Linked DNA regions of Homo sapiens: region 1 is linked to region 2. The links are contacts of gene promoters, found by promoter capture Hi-C in blood cells and fetal thymus (Javierre and others, 2016). All regions are on one chromosome and are shown on one strand. The core of a region is centred on a gene start or on the middle of the fragment in contact, and the rest is flanking DNA. Distances in the headings are between cores, read along the strand shown.

Region 1 (3,455 bases), core at 861-3,360, 3.8 Mb after region 2:
AAAAAAAGAAAAAAGGCCAAGACAAACACTACCTTCCCATTTAAAATATACCTTTAAGTAAACGCCAGCTGAGAAGAGAACAATTTTTAAAACCATCAGAAAAAGGAGGAAAAAGTCACTATTTTGGTAATTTTTATAAAGTCTAAAGTGCATCTTGTTAGACATATTTGTAAATGTATATTAAGTACAAATTTTATTTATAAGGAATAATGTTCTTAAGATGTGTTTTTACAGTTAAGTTTCTGAGACTAAATCTATCTTCACATAAAAGTTCCCATGTAATTTTCACCTACATATTCAGCACTACAAATTTTAATTAGGTTTTCTGCTATCACCATGAGATACAAGATTAATTGTTGCACGAACTGACCTGCATACACCATTGAATACTCATTTTATTGTCCCTAAAGATGCGAACATCTCAGACATGTGTACTGCATGAAGAGCTGTCTTTCAAGTCCATATTTGTGGCTTTTAATTACTTTACCTGACCACTACATGAGTTAATATAAAAAACGTTCTGTCTGGGAACTCGGGATGTGTTAACTGAGAACAATGACTATACTGCCGTTCAAGCATTGGGTAATTACGATTTATTTACAGCTCGCCTCCTGTATGTAAACACAACTTGAGTTTTTGAAGTTCATTAGGAAGATAGTATAGGATTACCCAACTCTCTCCACACCGCAGACCAACCCTCTAAATTAAGGCTATACCCAAAGTTTTCGAAACTATTTCATCAACAGGGTAGGATCAGTCTGGGCACCACTGCCCATCCATCACCTCTTATTAAAAGTACGAGAAGCACTTTCTTCGACATAAAAAAGGGTTAACCCTCGCTGGGGGAGAGAGGCTGTTGAAGACGCGCGTGGAGTGGGTGGGTAGCTGCTCTACCAACCCTTCCCGGAGCTCGCCCCGTCCGCGGCAAGGAACGCAGCAGCCTGCAGCTCCGAAGGCGAGGGGCGGCGTTTCTGGTTTCAGTCATTCGTCCAAAATAACTGTCGAGCTACTTAAGAGTTAGCTTTCACGTCTCTACCAAAAACCAACAGCAGTAGCAGCAACAACAACAAACAAGGTTTTTCTCCGGACCGAAAACTTTTAAAGTAACATTAAAATAACAGTGTAAAAACAATAACGAGTCACAATTGCACACCATTTTCCCCGCCGTTCCTTCTGAAAGGAAAGCTAGAACCCAGTTGTGGCCTGGGAGGAGTCCCTCCACGCCAGTGCTGGGCTCTTCCTCAACTGGCTGCTCGGGGACCACTCGGGGTGGCGCGGTGAGCGCGATTTCCCTCCGGCGAGCGGCGAGGGACAGTGCAAAAATGTCACGCTCAGCCCGTCCCCTGGCCCGAAGCGGAGGCCAGGCGGCGCGCGGGGACCCGGCGGCGGGGGCGAGAGCGCCCGCGGCCCCGACCCGCGGTCCCCGCCCGCCCCTCGCCCGGAAGGGGGAGAAGCCCGCCCGCGGGAGGATTCAACAGGAGCACCGCGCCGCCCGCCTGCCGCCCGGGAAACAGCCGCCGGCCGGCCGGGGCGCGGGGGGAGGGGCGCGGCGGCGGCGACGGCGGCGGCGGGAGGGCGCGGGCGGCCGGGCGGCCCCGAGACCCCCGCCCGCGCGCAAGGTCACCGCCCGCCGCCGCCGCCGCCCCGGCCGGGATCAGAGCGGCAAGTTTAATTTTCCAGAGGCTGCGGCAGAACCCGCGGCGTGGAGGCGCGCGCCGGCCGCGGGGCCCTCCCCACCCCCACCGCGCAGCCGGCCCGCGCCCCGCGACCCCCGCCCCGGGCCACCGCCAGGCAGCCACCCGCTGCAGCCCCCGATGCCGGGAGGCGAGTCGCGCCTGGCACCCAGGCGGGCGGCGCTTCAGCCCTGCCACACACACGCACACAGCGGCAGTGGCGGCCGCTGAAAAATGGAGCGCCGCAGCCAGAGAAGAGAGACATTTTCTTTCCGTTAACTGAATTGTTTCCTACCTCCGGGTTGCCGACTCGCTACTCCGCTCACTCCGGGGCTCTCCGGGATCCGCCGCCGCCGCCGCATCCAATCGCCTTCTCCCCCCCCCTCCCCTTCCGCAGCCAGCCCTGCCGTTCCTCCTCCTCTCCGCTTCAAAATGGCGCCAAGCGCTCTTCGGCGGCTGCTCCAATCGAACCGCCGCGGACAGCACCCGGGGGCAGGCAGAGCGCGGCATGGGTGCGCAGCGCCCCCTGCCGACCAGACGGCCCCGAGCGCGTCCGCCCTCCGAGCTCCACCCCGCCCCGTCCGCGCGCGCGCACGTCCCTCCTCAGCCCCGCCCCGTCCGCGCGCACGCAACCACACGGGCACGCCGCCGCGGGGCCCGCGAGAAGGGCAGCTGTCAAGGCGTCCACTACTCTTGCGGCTTCCTAGACCTCTACCGACAAAAACCACACCGATTGTTACGTAGCCCTATCTTTTTAGATAAAGGTTGGGAGATTTTTTTAAACCCTGACATTCAGCACAGGTGTTGTGATGGGTAAACAGAATTGGTATTATTAACTACTTTGCTCCTTACTTGTTAACTCTGACCTAGTCGTCTCGGAATGCCATACAAATAGTTTTCCTACACTTTACGTGTTATGTCTTTATTAAATCTCCCCGCTTTCCTAATTTGAGGAATTGTTTATAGGTGGTAGGCTGGCGGAGACAGAGTAATTGAGCCTGTGACGAAGCATTCCATTCCTTTGGCAGAATTGTCCTTATTAGAGGAAGAAATCATCTGGAGACCACAGGGACACATTCCAGGAGGTGGGTCTCCTCCCCTCTTCACCTCTAAGGGATGCCAGTCCCTCCTGCAGCTGTAGAGTGGGTTTAGCCTGGTCACCACAGCAGATCACCTACCTTGCGGGAAGGTTTCCTCCCCAGCCGGGTCCCTGCCAGAGCTGAAGAAGGGACTTCCTCCTCTTTTTACTTTAATACCATCCCTGCTGTAAGGAAGTTTCCCCTGATATGATGTATTTGGTTACTAGAATTTTGTTCCAGGGAGAATTTGTTTCAACAATGAACAAGCAAAGTGTGAATGAATGGATTACAGTAGGATACTTATCAACTGAAACAAAAGAGAGGTAATGCTGATATATAAACTAATGCTACTGTGTTAGAAAAGGTATGTACATCGGTATTCCATCGGACCCGGGCACCTAGAGATACTGAGACCTCTTCATTTCCATTTTTGTGGGATTCGCTGGACAATTCCGCCTCAGTCTCCTCCAGTGCTTGCTAGACCAATATGTTGTGTTACTGTATTCCTGTGTCCAAGATTTTGCCACTGAATACTCCAGGTTCTACCCATTTTATACATTCCTCGATGAAGTCTACTATGAGTTTTTTCTGCCCTCTTTTTAAAATTATCTCAGGAATTTTCTTATTTTACATCGTTGTTCCATCAACATAAATCTTGTATGGGAGAGTAGGATGTCTAGATCTAGAAAAACCTTTCCTCTTT
Region 2 (3,512 bases), core at 190-2,689:
TACATTTAAAAGTTATATAACTTTTATTTTAAAATGTTAATTTATAATAAAACAGAAGTTGCTTCTTTTGTAACTATTTAAGTCAGATGAGAAATTGTGATGGTCAATCCAAAAACGTGGAAGTGAGAATACAGTCATAGTCTTTGGGGACTCCTTTGGGGGTATAAGAGCAAAATCATTTTGAAACCACTGTATTAATATATTCCTAATAGGTTTTGCTTTTTGGGATGACTGACTGCTACCTTTCTGAGATTTGAGGGAGTCACTTAACTGGTCCTAAGGCCAGGCGCGGTGACTCACGCCTGTAATCCCAGCACTTTGGGAAACTGAGGCAGGTGGATCGCTTGAGGTCAGGAATTCGAGACCAGCCTGGCTAACTTGAGGTCAAGCTTTCAAGACCAGCTTGGCCAATATGGTGAAACCCCGTCTCTACTAAAAATACAAAAATTAGACGGGAGTGGTGGTGCACAGCTGTAATTCCAGCTTCTCTGGAGGCTGAGGCATGAGAGTCGCTTGAACCTGGGAAGCAGAGGTTGCAGTGAGCCGAGATCATGCCACTGCACTCCAGCCTGGGCAACATAGTAAGACTCTGTCTCAAAACAAAACAAAAACACAACAACAACAAAACTGGTTCTAAATGCTCCGGGCAAGTACATACTGCTTTTTCTTTTTTCTGTTTTTTTTTCCCTAAGGCAGCCCTATTGAAGAGTCTGTCATCTACAATATTTTACTAATTTAAAAACACTTGTCAAGAAGGGTAAAGTATGTTCATCTTGATTTTACTCTTTGTATCCCGGAATCAGGAACTAACAGTTTTATGATAGTGATATAGACTTTACACACACACCAAGACTTAAAACACGTGGTGCAGGCGGGCTTTTGGAAATTAACTGTGCTCTGGATACAGAAGTCACAAAGCTCAGGCTGCAGAGACATTGAGGGGATAATCAGCCTTTATTGTCTCTCGTGCACTGTGCCCAGCGCTCCCTCTAGCGGCTACAAGCGCTCACTGCCCACACTCTCTACTAGGCTCTCCGGAGGCCTCGGTTTCGCTGGAGAGAAAGAGATTGCGCAGGCGCCGAGCAGCCGACGTGGCCGCAGGGGACCGTGCCTGGGGGGGTCTGCGCGGGGCCGCTGACTCGCGAGGTTCTCTGTCGCCTGCCGCCCTCGCTCCTTTTCTCCCCTTCTAGAGTGTTACGGTGACTCTTGGGTCCGAAGGGGACGGACGTCCTCCCACGTACCATTTAGAAGGTCAGAGTGGGCAGAACCTAGTCTGAGCAGGCCGGTGATGAATCCGCTGGCAAGACGCGCGCGTGGGTACTCACGTGACCTAGGCTGCGGCGGCGGCGTGCTGCGGGCTCTGTGGCGGGAGCGAGGCCGACGGGCGGGGCCGCGCGGCCGCGTGACGCGAAGCGTTCGAGAGCGCGCGTCGTGGAACGTCTTGGTTGCCACGGCAAGCGCGCGCGCGAGGCCTTGGGAACCTCGGGACCGGCCCCCGGCGAGCGCAGCGGCGCCCAGTGTAAGGGAGTGGGAGCTGGTCCGTGCCGCGGCGGCCGCGCAGGGAGCTCTCGAGGCAACGCCGGGGCGCCCGAGGTCTGGAAGGCGCAGGTGGGGCGCGGGGGAGTTCACCCCTGCGCGGTCCCTTGGGTGGGCGGGGTGGGCGCCCCAGGCCCCGCGGACTCGGCTGGGAGGCTGAGCGGGCGACGGTCACGGGACAAGGGTGGAGGGGGTGGGGACCTCATCCGAGTCTCAGAGATGGAATTTTCGAGGAAGGGAGCGATTTCGAGAGAGAATAGTTTGAGAAGTTGTTCTCAGTCCCTTCTCTCGCGGGAGTGTGGTATTTAGGGAAGCTTCGGCCTCTTAACCCATGGACTGTTAGGATGGAGGGAATCCTTCCCGCTCGATTCCTATCGCGGAGTCCTTTCGGAGCATCGCTATTGATCATTCTCGCCGCCCCAACCCCGTTGTTTACTTTGGCTTCGCAGATCTCTGTGGTCTTTTGCCCTCCCGCAGCGCCCATGGCCCCGTCAAGGTTGGGCAGCCTTTCTCTGCAAGAAGGCCCACGAACAACTGCGGTTATATTGGGATGGATTGCGCGTGATTTTACTCTTTACAATACATTCTTTCATGCTTCCTAGGGATTGAGCTGCGCGGCGGATCCCTCCGACTTAATTCTGGGCCTGAGAAAAGTTTCTCTTGGAATGCGCAGTTTCGTGACGCAGCATTATTGCGTGACTCTAGGGCTGACCCAGTTTTTCACTTTCTAATTGTAAGGAAGTGCGCTAGTAGTCCACCGAGGATCCTCGAGGTTGGCCTTATTGTATCATAATTTAACGAATTTGCGTTCCAGGTTGTTACAGCCTTTGAAATAATGGCCTCATATTTAAGAATGTAGCAATTTTTCTTTGAAATTTCCGAAAGTGGGGAAAAAAGTAATAGAAGACTGCACCTATATGGAATTATTTTCTGATTCGCAGTTCTTTATAATCGTAGACTTAATTTGGTGGCTTTATTGGACCTGTTTGAAACAGGAAGCCTTTCTGTAATGTGGTTTCGGGTCGGCTTCACCTCTGGCACTCTCTGAAACGTCGTTGTCTATGGTTTCCCTAAGAAGCTAGAATGAGCGGGATGCTACGGAGGGAGGTGTATACAGGTGTTAGACAAAGCCCCCTCCGCTTTTTTGGTAAAGGGCCAAATAGGCATTAGATCAACTTGTGCTAGCTCTAAGGAGTTAAATGCGGTATTATTAAAGACTGCTTGTAATGTTGACTGTTAAGTGAGAGTGTTACTTCTTTCAGTGTTTATGGAATCGAACTAAATTGCTAGGTATTTTAATGCAGAATTTTACCTTTTCTCGGGTATTTTTTAAGACATACACAGACATACATGTAGTTATGTTGAAATAAATGTGTTTTATTAGAACGTTAAAAAATTAGAATTTAGGTGAACTACTGGTATCGGAACAGATTTTGGTTTGTTGTTGAAGACTGTACACTGGTGTAGGTACTGTTTAATACATCAGATTGTCATTTCAAAGACTTTGTCTTCTTAACTTTGAAAATTAAATAATGTGAAATAATGTGATAATGGTTTTTATCTTTTCAGGACACTTGATTGACACTTAATTGTGCTTAGGAATAGAATAGGCTTTTTTTTAAGTCACCATCCTCCAATCCTTATTTCTGTAAAATGTATTTTCTGAGACCGCTGAGGATATAGCAAATCCCAGTCACAAAATAAAAATGTGATATTTTAATATAAACCTTTTTCTTTCTGTGTTGAGATTCCCCAGAGATTAGACTGAAATTGACCATTAGACTTATATATAACCTCTAGATACCCAGGCTCTTCTCTCGTGTATCCTTTTTTTCTCTTTAAGATGGAGATGTAGCAAGGAAGGTTATTAAGCAATCCTGTGGAATTAGCCCTCCCACTCCACCCCTACACACAGGCACACTCTTCTTTCTCAGTAGCCATCTTGTTCCCTCCATTGACACATTATTAGGAAATCT

The links. Contacts are between HindIII fragments. The CHiCAGO score rates a contact against its expected background, and 5 or more counts as called.
Region 1: a contact is called between the fragment with the promoter of PDS5B here and the fragment with the promoter of SPART in region 2, in 6 of 17 cell types (monocytes, total B cells, total CD4 T cells and 3 more). The highest score is 8.4, in monocytes.

What each region holds. Positions count from the first base shown.
Region 1 is chr13:32,585,107-32,588,561 of GRCh38, reverse strand. PDS5B (PDS5 cohesin associated factor B) reads right to left here and starts at 2,110. Exons shown (of 35, transcript NM_015032.4): 1 at 1,969-2,110. It overlaps PDS5B-DT (PDS5B divergent transcript), which reads left to right and starts at 2,117. Exons shown (of 3, transcript XR_001749808.1): 1 at 2,117-2,185; 2 at 2,640-2,758; 3 at 2,993-3,455. RefSeq lists an enhancer at 1,006-1,065 and silencers at 1,296-1,545, 1,966-2,045, 2,056-2,425. The HindIII fragment of the contact is 4,434 bases long and covers 1-3,455 here.
Region 2 is chr13:36,344,321-36,347,832 of GRCh38, reverse strand. It overlaps SPART (spartin), which reads left to right and starts at 1,439. Exons shown (of 9, transcript NM_015087.5): 1 at 1,439-1,608. It overlaps SPART-AS1 (SPART antisense RNA 1), which reads right to left and starts at 1,402. Exons shown (of 5, transcript NR_045181.1): 1 at 1,326-1,402. RefSeq lists a silencer at 1,541-1,590. The HindIII fragment of the contact is 1,461 bases long and covers 392-1,852 here.